3 separate regions of the Homo sapiens genome follow, and all the other regions are linked to region 1. Evidence: promoter capture Hi-C in 16 types of primary human blood cells and fetal thymus (Javierre and others, 2016). All regions are on one chromosome and are shown on one strand. Each heading gives the region's core, a stretch centred on a gene start or on the middle of the fragment in contact. The rest is flanking DNA. Distances are from core to core; before and after follow the strand shown. Region 1 holds the start of SLC34A1 (solute carrier family 34 member 1). Region 2 overlaps UIMC1 (ubiquitin interaction motif containing 1). Region 3 has its middle 14 kb from the start of FGFR4.

The links. The method cuts DNA at HindIII sites, captures the fragments that hold promoters and counts their contacts. A CHiCAGO score of 5 or more calls a contact.
Region 2: a contact is called between a fragment that was not itself captured here and the fragment with the promoter of SLC34A1 in region 1, in 1 of 17 cell types (monocytes). The highest score is 5.5, in monocytes.
Region 3: a contact is called between a fragment that was not itself captured here and the fragment with the promoter of SLC34A1 in region 1, in 1 of 17 cell types (endothelial precursors). The highest score is 6.0, in endothelial precursors.

The regions. Positions count from the first base shown.
Region 1 is chr5:177,381,300-177,386,420 of GRCh38, reverse strand. It overlaps SLC34A1 (solute carrier family 34 member 1), which reads right to left and starts at 1,987. Exons shown (of 13, transcript NM_003052.5): 1 at 1,934-1,987; 2 at 571-726; 3 at 285-434; 4 at 72-200. The coding sequence starts at 679. The HindIII fragment of the contact is 19,795 bases long and covers 1-5,121 here.
Region 2 is chr5:176,900,046-176,905,166 of GRCh38, reverse strand. It overlaps UIMC1 (ubiquitin interaction motif containing 1), which reads left to right. Exons shown (of 15, transcript NM_001199298.2): 15 at 1-161. Among named protein-coding and RNA genes, the nearest start is that of HK3, 3.3 kb to the right of the region's middle. RefSeq lists an enhancer at 4,500-5,001. The HindIII fragment of the contact is 1,138 bases long and covers 1,979-3,116 here.
Region 3 is chr5:177,070,242-177,075,362 of GRCh38, reverse strand. It overlaps a transcript of ZNF346 not described here. Among named protein-coding and RNA genes, the nearest start is that of FGFR4, 14 kb to the left of the region's middle. The HindIII fragment of the contact is 2,298 bases long and covers 1,146-3,443 here.

The DNA of each region.
Region 1 (5,121 bases), core at 738-3,237:
GGGGAGCATGAGCCAGCGTTGTCCAAGGCCCTTCAGGAACCCCTCCCAGGTCTCCTCCACCCGGGCCCTACCTCCAGCCAGCTGGAAGGCCGAGCTGAGCATGTCCAGGGAGCAGACGAAGAGGTAGAGGAAGGTGAGCATCAGTGGCACCTTGAGCAGCATGGCGCCAGCCTGGCGCAGCTTGGGGACCAGCCTGGACTCTGGATGGGGGAAGCCATGAGCATAGTGGGCAGAGGCCAGGGCAGGGACTGCTGCCGCCTCTGCCACCCCCAGCCCAGGCCCACCTGGCTTCTGCTCCTCCTCCAGGGCCAGCTTGGCAGGCAGTGGTTCATGGCGCTCCAGGACCTCCCCACAGGGGCAGGTGTGCTCAGCAAGGGCCACAGGGCCCAGGCTGGGGAAGGCATAGGCAGAGGTCCCCGGGATCCTGTGTAGGACTAGGGAGGGAGCCTGGTCAGGAGCCCCAGGGCCCCAAAGTGGGGAGGCGGGGAGGAACAGGCGGGGGAAGTGGCCTCATCCGGGATGTGGGCAACCGTGGGCAACCAGGGTCCAGGGTGTGGGAGCAGCACTTACCCTGAGGGCTGGGCACGTAGGCAAAGGCCGTCCCTCGCATCACATGCCCCCCACGGACTGGGAGTGGGGAGACAGCAGGGGACCCCAGCCTCTCTCCGTAGGACAACATCCTGGGCACCCACTATGAGGTCTGCAGGTCAGTGGGTCTCAGCAACGCTGAATGACAATAGCTGTGTCCGGGACACTCATGCCCACACACCCTCACCTGCACAAACCCCCATGGCGCATGATTCCAAATACACACCTAGCAAAGCACACCCTCCATCCTCACCACACACACACACCCCTCCGAGACTCACACGCACAAACACACACCCAGCAAACCACACCCTCCATCATCACCACCACAGCCCTCCGAGACTCACATGCAGACTCACATGTGCACATCTGTGCTGGGCACCTGCATGTGAGTCTCGGAGGGGTGTGTGTGGTGGTGGTGAGGTGATCATTCATTCACCATTCACTCATTCAATGAGTATTATTGAGCTCTAGCCCAGGCTCCGAACCAGAGGCTTGGATATAGCATTGATAAAAGACACTGAGAACTGAGGACGCCCAGCCTGTTTGGGGCTGGAGGGGGCCAGGGAATACGTGGTGTTGGCAGTGGCTGCAGGTGTGGGCTGGGGCTGGGCCGGGCTTCAGTTTTGCCCACCTGGAGAGCAAGGAGGAGCTGCAGACACCTGCCTTCTCATGGGGTCAGCTGGGCACACACGGAGATCCCCTGGGCCGGATCCCGAGTTCCTGGGTTCCCCTCACAATGAATTCCTTTCCCCATCCACCCCCTCAAGGGGCAATGAACAAACACTGACAGGCTTGCCTCAGCCCCCCCTTGTCCCCGCACTGCCCCAGGAGTCTTGGCTATTGGGGTGGAGTGCCCTGATCTGCCTCAGCACTCCCCGCATTGTCCCAGCGTCCTTGGCTGTTGTAGGGGTGTGAAGAGTTGAATTCAAGTCCTGAAGGAGCAGGAGTCCTTTTTTTTTTTTTTTTTGAGATGGAGTTTCACTCTTACCGCCCAGGCTGGAGTGCAGTGGCACAATCTTGGCTCACTGCAACCTCTGCCTCGTGGGTTCAAGCGATTCTCCTGCCTCAGCCTCCCAAGTAGCTGGGATTACAGGTGCCTGCCACCACACCTGGCTAATTTTTTGTATTTTTAGTGCAAACTCGACCTCAGGTGATCCGCCCACTCGGCTTCCCAAAGTGCTGGGATTACAGGTGGGAGCCACCGCGATTGGCTGGACTGACATGTTATATGGGGCGCGGTGGGGGTGGGCGCAGATAGGACACAGATGAAGGGGCTGGGGTGCTGGGCTGTTTCCTACTCAGAGCTGGGGGTGGGGTTGGGATGTGAGGGTCCTGGGCTCACCTTAGAATTCTGTGTTTCAGCTTCTGCTCAGCAGCTCAATGAAGCCTCCAGGACCCTGAGGAGAACTGAGACCCTCCTCTTTATACTCTTGGGTCAAGGGCAAAGTCCCTGGAACCCTAGCTGCCCTCCCTCTGTCCCCCAATTAACCTCACCCCTGAGATTCCTCCCAGTTAATTGCTAATCGTCAGCTCTGCATGGGGAATCTATGGTCAGGTTCTTCCCATCAACCACGACCCAGACACATCCCCCGCCTGCAGGCAGAGACCCTGATGCCACTCAGCACCTTGTTCCCAGGGTCCCCTCGTTCCTGGCCTGACAGGACTCCCCAGGGAATGACCCAAACATCCTATGGCCTTCGGAGGTTGCAGTGAGCCAAGATCGTGCCACTGCACTCCAGCCTGGGTGACAGAGTGAGACTGTCTCAGAAAAACCAAACCAAACCAAACAAAAACATCCTATGGCCTTGCCAAGCGTCGGGGTGTCTGTAAGTCTCCCAGGGGGAGCTCAGAGGAGAGGGAGTGTGAGATGAGGACCTAAGCTGGAAAGGCCGTGGAATGTTGAATCGTGGCAGGTCTCTAATGCCCGACCATGGGTCCAGGATGTGAGTCTGAGTGAATGTGGAGCCGCTGGCCAGACTGGGATGGGCCTGATCTGCCTTTTAGAATGGCCCCCGGGGTGGAACCCGGATATATGGAAGGGAGCCTGGAAGCGGAGGGGCCAGTTAAGAGGCTAATGGTCCAGGCAGGAGATGATGAGGCCTGAACTCCGATGGGAACGGAGGGGCTGGGGAGGACAGGTGCATCCCAGGGACATCTGACCAGTAGAATTGGTGACGGGGAGGGAGAGAGGAAAAGGAAATAGATGGGAGTCGGGTCTCTGGATCTTTGGCTAGGGCTGGGTTCATGCCCAGGTAGGAGGGTGTCGCTGAGTCACGGAAATGCAATCAGTTCTCAGTTCTTGTGTCAGAATCTCTGGGTCCTTGGGCTTGAAGGTGCTGTTAATGTCACATCGAGTGTCTCCACCTATGAGCAAACTGACACCCCCACAGCGGGCCCAGAGACCCCGGCCCACGTGACCTGTTTCTCTCCATTCCCCCGTGCAGTTCAGACCCTTGGCAGGAGCAGCTGAATCCAAGGTGCTCCTGGTGAACTGGGGGTGTTTCTCCTTTTTAATAAGGTTGTGCTTTTTGATATTTTTGAAGTTTGCCTTCCCTGCTGTCACGGAGCTCTGGGTTTAGTGGGGGAGGCAGTTAGCTATCGATCAAATCCATCAAGAGATATAATTCCAAAATGCTGCTGATTTACACAGCCACCACTTCTAAAGATTTATTTTGGGGCTACAGCCCTAGTGAAAGTGAGAAAATGCTGGATCTGACCAGAGCTGCTGTTGGGACTCATACAAGCAGCAGAGAAGGCAGCTCCATTCCAGCACCAACGTATCTCTTGCCAGCCTCTCTGCCATTTCAGCACCTCCCTGCCTACTGCCTGCCTCCTCCCTGGCCAGTGACAGAGTCTGTGTGTCCCCCTGGGTGGTGAGTCCCACCTTGTCTGTGCACCTGGGCTCTGGCCATGGCCTCCCCAGACCTTTTCTGGGCTGAGAGCCTGCCTGGTTGGGGGTGTCTCGCGTTGAGAAAGGAACCCAGCAGGAGGAGCTGTTTTGGAGGGAAGGTGCCAAGCTCCGTCTGCTCAGGCTTTCTGAGCGGCCTCTGGCACGAGCAGTTGGCTCTGCAAGCCAGAAGCACGCACTGTGCTTCTCACCCCAAACCTGGGCCTCCTCCTTCTTCCTGATCTTGGTGAGCGGCACACCGTCCATCCATCTGGGTCGGGCACCAAGCAGACATCCTTGCTGTTTCCTTCCCCTCCACTTCCTCGTTTCCAACTCAGTCCTCAATTCTCCCAATTTTATTGCTCCAGGAGCTCCCTGATCTTTTGCTGTTAGCCATCTCTGTGGCCACCTCCCTGGACTGGGCCTGTCATCTCCCCTGGGTCATTGCGGTCACTTCCCAAGTGCTCTGTCCATTTCTGCCCTTGCTGCCCCTGATCCATGCTCCAAAGCAGCAGACAGCAATCTTTTCAAAATGCCAAACTAGGCCGGGCGCGGTGGCTCACGCCTGTAATCCCAGCACTTTGGGAGGCCAAGGCAGGTGGATCACCTGAGGTCAGGAGTTCGAGACCAGCCTGGCCAACATGGTGAAACCCCATGTCTACTAAAAATACAAAAAAATTAGCGGGGCGTGGTGGCGGGCACCCGTAATCCCAGTTACTCGGGAGGCTGAGGCAGGAGAATCACTTGAACTCAGGAGGCAGAGGTTGCAGTGAGCCGAGATCGCACATTGCACTCCAGCCTGGGCAACAAGAGCAAAACTCTGTCTCAAAAAGAAAAAAAAAAAAAGGCCAAGTTAATCATGTCACCTCCTCTTCCTTTCGAAACCTGCCCCTGCTAACCACTTAGCATAAAGCCCAGGATCCTATAGTAGCCTGGAAGGACCAGGGTGACTTGGCTTCCTACCTGCTTTGCCAGCCTTAACCCGTGCCTGAGAAACTGTACCCCAGGGAGGACATGTACAGGAGGAGAGAAGGGGCCAGGGCCAAGCCCAGAGGAGCACCCACTTTTTTTTTTTTTGAGACAGAGTCTCGCTCTGTCGCCCAGGCTGGAGTGCAGTGGCGCGATCTCAGCTTACTGAAACCTCTGTCTCCCAGGTTCAAGCGATTCTCCTGGTTCAGCCTTCTGAGTAGCTGGGACTACAGGCACCCGCCACCACGCCCAGCTAATTTTTGTATTTTTAGTAGAGACAGGGTTTCACGATGTTGGCCAGGATGGTCTCGATCTCCTGACCTTGTGATCCACCCGCCTCAGCCTCCTAACGTGCTGGGATTACAGGCGTGAGCCACGGCACCTGGCCAGCACCCACATTTAAGGGAGACTGAGAGGAGCAGCCACGGACCAGGAGGAAGCCACCTCAGAAGCCAGGCTGGACCACATTTTGAGAGAGACACCCTGGTTGGCTGGGTCAAGTGCTGCTAAGATGTCAAGTAATCTGAGAACAGAGAGGCTTTAACAACCAAGGGCTGTCAGCCACCTGGGAGGGCATGTTGGGGGAGGAGTCAGCTTGTGATGGTGTGGGAAGGAGCGGGAGGCGGGGGAGCAGAGACAGCATCGCCAGCGTGAATATGAGACGCTGACATATA
Region 2 (5,121 bases), core at 1,298-3,797, 480 kb after region 1:
ACCAGCACCTACCCAGCATTCTGGTTTTTATGTTTTTTATGATCTATGCAGACAACTGTGTATTCTGTTTTATAACAGTTTGTTTGAATTTACTTACAGTTAAAAAATTTAAATATATTTATGTTTGTACGAAATCTTATTTCAATAGATGGAAATTTTAATTTTTTTTTCCTTCATGTTGCAGGGTTTGGGGTGGGGATACTTTCATTGTAGAGGTAGTTTATTAGACTCATAAATCACATGCTGAATGAATGCCATTACTGATCCTTGACATACCATGTATATATTCACTTAATGTGTACTGCACAATTCCGAACATTGGTTACTCCCTTGACTGTTTCTGACATAATTCTGGGAGGTGCCAGGGGCATTGACTCCCACTACCTATTCTGCTATCCCTACCATTCAGTGACCTGTCCCTTCATCTTGTACTCACACAGTGGAATTCTCAGCCTGAGCATAGAACATTTGAAGGATGTGTCCTGCCATTCTTCCCAGGAATGTGCAAGTGAACACTCTGTTATTAGATGCCTATGCAATTATTTTTTCTAAATAGATTAACCAGTGGGGATGCCAGGCATATTCATCTGTTCAAATCAAGATTGGGTCTCTTGATGCCAAAGGTTAGCAGCAACAGGACATGGCTTCTGTTTTGGTAACATTACTAACATAGCGCACATTCCTCACCGTGTTGCCTAGGAGCTTCCAGTGCAGAACAGAGATGTGGTCTGTTCTCGGTGCATGCCATGTGCAGACTCTGAAGATGAGAGGATGTCAATTGGCAGAAGGAGCTACCTGAAGGAGATGACCAAACAAGGATGTGAAGAATGCTAGTTTTGGCCAAAACTGATTTGAAGTTGTAATGAAAAACTGGGGGAGGTGGCTGTTGACCAGGAAAGGATCTTGGGACAGGATAAACAGGCACACTCAAGACTCTCCTAACTTCTGATTTTGTCCAAAGTTATCTTTTCTTTTAACATGAAAACGAGGTATGTGTTAGACTGGGGAGTTAGCAGATAGCTGGGATGGAAGACAGCACAAACATTAAGGCCTTGTTCCTGCCTAGGTCCCTTTGCACACAACCTTTTGAGTTAGAAGAAGGCAAGATGGCAGTCTCACTGTCTTTTCCTTCCATAGATAATGTCTTGCTGTTGGATGGCACTGACCTAGTGGCTAGCAGCACATAAGAAATAGCTGTTATTTTTTGAGCAACTACTACGGTCCAGGCAATGTATGTGGCCTTCATTTAATCCTCATAGCAACCCTATGGGGTATAGGTATTATCATCTCAATTTCCAGATGAGGAAGCAAAGGCTTAGAGTAACAAATAAGCCACTTTTTGTCCATGGCAGTGGAACCACAGTGCCCCTACTCTTCATTCCTGAAGAAAATGCTATATTTTGACTCCAGTATTGATTATTTTCCTGTTTTTCTTCTAGTGAAAAGTAGTTTATCAGTTATGTCCCATAAGCTTAACTCTCGCTTGTTTTCTCTTTCATTAAATGGCAATTTATTGGAGGTAGCGCTGTATAAACAGGGGACAGTGTGTGTATCTGTTTGCCTGAAGATAAGAAAAGGGAAAGGGTACTTCTGGAAAGTGAATTATTTAGCTTAAAATTGAGCAGTTTCCCTAAAACATGAGTCAGCAGCAGGAGGGTATGGATCAGCCAGACCAGGAACCACAGGCTTAATTATTAGCTAATGGGGAGTCAAGGGAAGAACAGCTACCCACTTCCCCCATCGCCTCCTCACAACCGTCTTGTTTGCCCACAGTCTTATTCTCCCCATGCTGTGATCCTGTGAGAGGAGCATTAGTGAAAGAGTGAAGAGACAAAGTATAAAATGTGTGAGATCAGCCTACATCTGCACCCTGCTTCTGATAAAAGTTAACCTCTCTGAGACCTGGCTTTCTTGTCCATAAAATGGGAAAAGATCATACTAACAGGGTTCTAAGGATTACCATAATGTGGATAAAGCTTTGATCCAGCACAATGTCATCACATAGAAGAATGAGTTAGTGGCAGCAGTTATTAATGTGATGCTAGTCTATGTGTCACAAATGATGTTGCACTGAGGGGTGGAGGGATGGGGGACGGGTGCAGATGCAAGAGGAGATAGTTTTCAGAGGAATGTGTACTCAGGAGGGACTACTCGGGCTCCATCAACCATCAGGCTTCCACAGGAAACTTGGGTCCCAGGCATCTAGAGTTCTCCTAGGGCCCCTGGATTTCTTTTACTTCTGAAAGATGAGAAATAGCTGTTCTGCTGATGCTGCCAACTCACGGAGAGCTGGGAAGCTCCATAAACTTCACAAGCTATTGCCGTAAATTGGAAGAGATAGAGGGGGACTTCTCTTTGTTAGGCGCTGTAGTTGTGCTTTTTCATTTAGTCCTTACAGCAGCCCCAGCAGAGGTTGTGCCTCGCCCATTTCCCCCAGGCATTCGCCATTCTGCTGTATACCCACAGAGTCCTGTTGCAAGTACCTGAGACTCTGCCTGAGGACTTCTCTTGGTTTGTGTTGGCACAAGCTGAGAGTACCAGGGAGTTAGTGCCCCTGGGACAGCTCTCAGCCAGTGGAAGTGGGAGGATAGATACCCCAGCTTCCTCACTCAGTGAGGGACAACTCTAAGGCACATTCTACCTATTTCTCAGGGTTCCCTGTGGGAGTGAACCTCTCTAAGCTCCCAGTAACAATTAACGTACACTTCCTTGGCTTCTTTCTCTTCCTACCTGGCTTCCAGCTCCTCTTCTGTATTTTCCTGATCAGGACTGGGACTAGGGTGATGAGCCTTTATTCTTGGGTTCATCTAAGTGCAAGGTTGGCACCCGTATGAACCTGAGAGGGTCTCTTTACATTCTGTACCCTAGGCATATCATTTGCATTGCCCTGATTCTGGCCCTGTCCTGGATCACTTCCCAAATAAAGTTATTTGCATTCAAATTAGGTCTGCCTCTGGGTTTACCTAACCTAAAGCAAATCCTATGAAGACATCAGTCTCCAAGTTTTATACAAGGAAAACCGAGGCTCAGAGGAATAAGAAATTTGTCTAAGGTCTTTCAGTTGGTAATGAGATGGGATTTTGAAACCAGGTCTGCCTGACCCCAGAGCTGAAGCTTTCTGTACTATAGCACACTACTTCCTACTTCTCATTTCAGTCACAAAACTAATGACTCAAGGGAAATTTCAGGTTTGGATGAGCTCATTTTTGCCTGTGAATCAGGGTAGCTTTGGCCTTAGGTTGTTAGCAGATGGGAATTTGGGGAGGGGAAGGCAGGTAGTAAGTGGATGAGAGGGTTGTAGTTGTCAGTGGAAAGATGGACTAGTGGAAAGACTGCTGAAACCATATGCACCAGGAAGACAGTAAGAGCTTGCTTGCTTCCTCTCAGTTTCAAAAGCCCTGGACTTTTTTTTTTTTTTTTTTTTTTTTTGAGACAGTCTTGCTCTGTCACCCAGGCTGGAGTACAGTGGCGTGATCTCGGCTCACTGCAACTTACCCTGCCTCCCAGGTTCGAGCAATTCTCTTGCCTCAGCCTCCCGAGTAGCTGGGATTACAGGTGCACACCACCACGCCCGGCTAATTTTTTTAATTTTTAGTAGAGACGGGGTTTCACTGTATTGGCCAGGCTGATCATGAATTCCTGACCTCAAGTGATCCGTCCACCTCGGCTTCCCAAAGTGTTGGGATTACAGGCGTGAGCCATCATGCTTGGCCAGCCGTGGACTATTGAGATTGTGGGAGGGCTCTTCAATTTAACAAAAATTAATTGATACTTGTTCCTTGCCAGATAAAGAACTGAGGTCTGAGGCTGCACGGGTGAATAAGAAACATTCTCTGGGAGCCCATAGTACAATGGGGAAGAAGAACACATAAACAGATGCCTTTAATAAACAGATATAAATGCAGTGATACAAGAACATGCATCATAATACGGAACCAATAAGCAGACCACACTCAGCTGGGGTCGGCCAGGAGGAGCTTTTCAGAGAAGGGCTCCTCATTGTCGTTGATGATTATAATTTAAGGGATGAGGAAAAATGAGGTGAAAAGGTGGGAGAGGCCAAAGGGAGGGTCATTCCAGACAAGTCAGTGCAAACAAAGACACAACAGAAGTAGCTCGATGTGTGTAGGAGAGCTGCAAGGCACATTCACGGTATAAAGGGTGTGGAACAAATTGGGGGAGCTTATTGAGGATCTCTGTGCCTGGCATGGGCACTGTGAGTGGTGAGAAGCCTGTGAGCAAGCGCAGAGGGAAGGCCTGACCTCCCAGCCCATCGGCAGTGCTCTGGTTGTGCCCACCTCTCCCCCAGCAAACTGCCTTTCCTCATTCCTTAGCTCCATCTCTACAGTTGGAGATTGGCACTAAGGGGCTATGAGGGAACCTCGTGAGGACTTGTCCTTCCCTTTGTTGGTCAGTGGCCATCTGGTGTCTGAAGAGAACCGCTGGCAGCTGCAGTGCCTCTGCTACAGCCAGGCTGTCCCAGCTGCTCACAGACCTCAAGCTCAGCCATCCTTCTCCCTCCACTGGCCTTGACCCAGACTTTCCCTGGCATTCTGACTAGGGAACCAGGACCCCTGCTCCTGGGGTCTGGACACAGACCTTCCAGAAACGCAGATGAAGAGCCCTGGCCATGCTTGTCAGGGGCATATCCTCACCCTGGCTCAAGAAATGGCAGGCTATCTGCATGAATCACAGCTGGGCCTTTCATAGTCAGTTCCACATTCTCCTCTCCCAACTGAACAAAGTTGAAAGGGACTGGGATCCCAGGCTAGGCAGGATGCTGTGTTGTTTGTGACAGCCACTCTACCCTCTGCCACCCCATCCCCCACTTCCCTGCCTTTCACAGCCTATATGCCTGGTTGGTACCCAGTAAACTTCACAGCAGGACTGATGTTTGGCATGTTTCCTGGCCTCTTCATGCCACTACTGATAGAGGAGCCACTATCTCTGGTCTCCATCCTGATGTCATGTGGAGGCCTACTATCTGTGGATAGAGTTACTGCTGACAAGGCAGCCTGAAGCTTTAAAGTGTATCCATGCCTTCAACAAAGATTGTTGCAGGCTGTCTAGTATTCTACATTGGTGCCCCAAGGTTCTGTGCCTTTGAGGAGAAATTCCCAC
Region 3 (5,121 bases), core at 1,045-3,544, 310 kb after region 1:
TTACTCATCTCGGCTCACTGCAACCTCTGCCTCCTGGGATCAAGCCATTTTCCCGCCTCAGCCTCATGAGTAGCTGGGATTACAGGCACCCACCACCATGCCCGGCTAGTTTTTTTTTGTATTTTTAATAGAGACGGGGTTTCACCATGTTGTCCAGGCTGGTCTTGAACTCCTGATCTCATGATCCACCTGCTTTGGCCTCCCAAAATGCTGGGATTACAGGCGTGAGCCACCATGCCCGGCCAAAATGTAGATATATTTTATTTTTATTTAAAAAAAATTCTTTTTTTTTTGAGACGGAGGGAGTCTTGCTCTGTCGCCCAGGTTGGAGTGCACTGGCGCGATCTCGGCTCACTGCAAGCTTCGCCTCCTGGGTTCATGCCATTCACCTGCCTCAGCCTCCCGAGTAGCTGGGACTACAGATGCCCACCACCATGCCCGGCTAAATTTTTGTATTTTTAGTAGAGACGGGTTTCACCGTGTTAGCCAGGATGGTCTCGTTCTCCTGACCTCGTGATCCGCCCGCCTCGGCCTCCCAAAGTGCTGGGATTACAGGTGTGAGCCAACTTGCCCGGCCAGGAATCCCTCCTCTGTCTGACCTAACTGCCCTCTGCCCTGGAGCTGCTCAGCCTCTATCAATTTTTCTGGCTCTCAGCGAACGTTTTCATTCAGTTGCAAGACACAGAAACTCAAATTCAAACCTGCTTACACAAAATAGTGAATGTACTGGCTCATGCACTTTTTAAAGAGATGAGGTCTGTTGTGCTGCCCAGGCTGGATGTGAACTCCTGGGCCTAAGAAATTCTCCTGCCTTAGTCTCCTGAGTAGCTGGGACTACAGGAGCATGACTGTAAGTCCTGGTGTGAATCAGGCTCCAGAAACAGCTTGATCCTGGTTCCCAACAGTATGGTCAAAACTCATTCTCTCTTCTGTCTTCTTCTCTATGACAGGTGCTCCCTAAGAAGTGACAAAGAAGGCCACTAACAGCTCTGGGCTCGAGACATTCCCACTTGGCAACTTCTCAACTGTTCTGGCAAAAGCCAGGAGAGTGGAGGTCTTCCCCACCCGGACTACATAAGCTGAGGGTGGGGTTTTTCAAAGAAAAGCTTATTATAGGAAGAAGGGTAAACAGACACTAGGAAGCTTCTGATTATTATACCTAGTGATTCTGTGAGCCTTTACTGCACAAACTGTTCCCAAACTTAATTATTTAAAACAATGTATTATTTCTCACAATTCTGTGATTAGCTGGGCTCAGGTGGCAGTTCTGCTTATGCTGTGGATTGGCTATGCTAGAGGGTCTGGGATGTCCTCCCTCACATGTATGGAGCTGGCTGTTGGCTTCTCTCTCTACCTGGTCTGTGGTCGCCACATGGTCTAGCCCAAACTTCCTTTCACAGGGTCAGGAACGGAAGCTGCATGAGCACTTAAGTCCTAACCTTGGAAGTCGTACAGTCATGTTACTGAATTCTCTGATCAAAGCAACTCACAAGACTAGTTCAGATTCAAGAGACTGGGAAATGGACCCCCCCCCTCCCCCGCCCGCCCGATCTTGATGGGAGCAATGATAAAGTCACATTGCAAAAGGACACAGGCACAGGGAGGCAATGATTCATGGGAGGCCATTATTGAAACAATCAACTGTGTTCCACAACTCGCCTCTTCTAGTTCCTTTCACTAAGCCTCCTCCCACCCCAGCAACCTGGCTCCTTTGACCTTCATGACCACTAGAGGATCATCTCCCTCAATAAGTCTTTCCGGCCAGGTGCGGTGGCTCACGTCTGCAATCCCAGCACTCTGGTAGGCCGAGGTGGGAGGATCGTTTGAGCTCAGGAGTTCAAGACCAGCCTGGGCAACACAGTGGGACCTTGTGTCTACAAAAAATAAGATAATTAGCTGGGTGTGGTGGTGTGCGCCTGTAGTCCCAGCTACTCGGGAGGCTGAGGTGGGAGGATCACTTGAGTCAGTGAGGTCGAGGCTGCAATGAGCTGTGTTTGCACCACTGCATTCCAGCCTGTGTGACAGAGTGAGACGCTGTTTCAAAAAACAAACAAAATAAATGTCTTTCCTGTGAAATCCCAGCAATGGTCCCTACCAGACCATACCCATTTTTATTCATTTATTCATTAATGTATTCAATCACCAAGCAGTTATTAAAACATAAGCACAGTCCTATGCTAGGGACCAGGGATGCAGTATCATAAGACCCAATTCCTGCCCTCAAGCAGTTTCTAGTCTAAAAGAAGAGACAGGGAATTAGATCATCGTAACACAGCATATTAAGGGCTATGCTAGAGGGGAACACAGGGCATCTGGGAACACAAAGGGCAGCCAACTTGGCCTTGGGGGCCAGTGATCTCTGGATGAGTGGAGGTCCCCAGGTTGACAAGGGGAGCTGGAGCAAGTATTAGGCAGAAATCTTGGTTGCAAGTTATAGAAACTCAACTGACTTAAAGAAAAGTCATAACTAAAAAGTCCTGGGGGATATTAGCTTCAGGCATAGCTGGATCCAGGTAGTCATCAGAAATGAGTCTCTCCTTATCTGGAGTACAGTGGTGTGATCTCGGCTCACTGCAACCTCCGCCTCACGGGTTCAAGCAATACTCCTGCCTCAGCCTCCTGAGTAGCTGGGACTACAGACGTGCGCCACCACGCCTGACTAATTTTTGTATTTTTAGTAGAGACAGGGTTTCATCATGTTGGCCAGCTGGCCTTGAACTCCTGACTTCAAGTAATCTGCCTGCTTTGGCCTCCCAAAGTACTGGGGTTACAGGTGTGAGCCACCGAGCCCGGCCTCCTCTGTGTTGGCTTAGTTCTGAAGCAGGCTGTCCTTACATGCTGGACACTAACAGCTGAAGACTATGACTGTGATTACTCAGTCGGGTCACAGGCTCACTCCTGGAATCAGAGAGCAGGGCCAGTCCCTCGGAACCACAGGATCTGAGAATGGAGCAGGTTTGTCACCCAAAGGAGAAAAGGAAAAGAAGGGCTGTGGAGCTGGCCTGACATCAGGTGTACTTCTAGACAGGTGACTAAGTTACAGCCCTCAAACAGAGAGGGCCTCCTGAGGGAAATGTCCTGAGGGAAGGGGAAATCGGCCTTGGGAATGAGCAGAAGTGCTAAGATCAAATCTCTCTCCAAGGCTACTTCTTGGTTGTGTAAGCTCTGCAAGACTTTGTCCCTGACTTTCTCCTGTGAAATCAAGTCTTTGCCAGTTGTCCTGAGGGTTAACTGAAATAGCATATACAGGGGCTCGTGAAGTCACCCTGTTCTCTTCCCATTAAATCAAACAGTAAAGTCCCAGGGCTGGTCTACCTTGCTAGAAAAAAGAAGCTGACTCCACCTAGTGGCTAATGGGGTCATTGCACTGAAGAGTTGAACATTTACAGAACTGCGTTCTGATATTCCTAGACAGATGAAGCAGCATATATGAACAGTAAGCTTGGGAGAGACAGGCCGGGGACGGGTCTGCCCTGTCTCTGTAACAGGGCTTTGCACAGGGCAGAGAGGTGAGGTTAGGTGGATGGATGGTCAGAGGGAGAAAGTGTTCTTCCTATTGTATTTTACACTAGTGACTGCTCATCAGAGCATCTGGTTTGGGGGTGGGGACAGCTCATCTGGCAGGGACTGCTGTGAGGGAAGGAAGGGCTTTCTTCTTCTTCTTCTTTTTTTTTTTTTGAGACAGAGTCTCGCTCTGTCGCCCAGGCTGGAGTGCAGTGGCACGATCTCAGCTCACTGCAAGCTCCGCCTCCCGGGTTCATGCCATTCTCCTGCCTCAGCCTCCCGGTAGCTGGGACTACAGGCACCCGCCACTACGACCAGCTAATTTTTTGTATTTTTAGTAGAGATGGGGTTTCACCGTGTTAGCCAGGATGGTCTCGATCTCCTAACCTTGTGATCCGCCCACCTCAGCCTCCCAAAGTGCTGGGATTACAGGCGTGAGCCACCGCGCCTGGCGCCTGGCCCCTTTTTTCTTTCTTTCTTTTTTTTTTTTTTAAGAGGCTCCCATTATGTTGCCCAGGCTGGATTTGAACTCCTGGGCTCAAGCGATCCTCCTGCCTCAGCCTCCCGAGCAGATGGGATTGCAGGCACGTGCACCACACCTGGCTTAGGGCTCTGGGAGGAAACTCTACCTGTTCATTGCTACTTCTTCAGGATTTGAGCTGGGAACTGTGATTTCTTCTAACTTCCACTTCACAAGGCCTCAGGTCACATATAGCTGGTGGCAGTGCTCAGACCAACACTTAGGGCTCCTGAATCCCAGGCCCTTGTCCCTCATGCCACCCCTCATTGGCTGCTATACAGGTACATGTCTAGATCTGTGTCTGCACTGGTGGGTTGTTATATTCAAACAGCTGCTTTGCATCTAGCTCTGGGCTAAGAGTATGCTTCCACTTCCTCTTGGTTCCATTTCATGCATGATTCCATTTCTTCCCCTCAGGTGTGACACCTCAGTAGTGTCACTGGCCAAAGAGCCTTGGGCCTGGGATAAGCAGGGGCTCCCCAGTAGTGGAGGGTGACTTTTCGCTGGGCCCCAGTAAAGAATCACTTCTAGCCACTATGCTACTTTTCCCCCCGCCTCAGTCAGACCGGATTACTGAATCTTATTACATGGGGCTATGCCAGATGCCATCTGCTTGTGGCCTTACCCCCGCTCCAGGGGGACTCAGGGCTTACTTCAGGTCAACAATAGAAAGAGCAGCAGCTATCATTTATATAGCATTTATCATGTGTAAGGCACTATTATTTCATATCCACCTATTCTTTTAATTCTCATGATCACCCTGTGAGGTAGGTACTAATGTTCCACCCCGAGGCAGCTTTGCGATGGCAGAGCTGGGATCTGAACCTTAGCTGCTTGCTTCCCAGAACCTGAGTTTTCGCCACTACGCTAGACTGCCTCTCCAGAGCTGATGCCTCTCTGAGACCCTCCCTAGGCACTGGAGCCATGAGCAGGGGCTCCCTCATATGCTTGCCTGCTGTATTGTGGGTCCTGGGTATTGATTTCTGAGGCCATTCGAGGCTACAAAATTCAAACCTGTCTTGAGCATGCTAAAAGTAAGAAGGGCCCTGATTTCAAGTCAGGAACTATGGATTCAAATTCCTGGGTACCACCAGAAT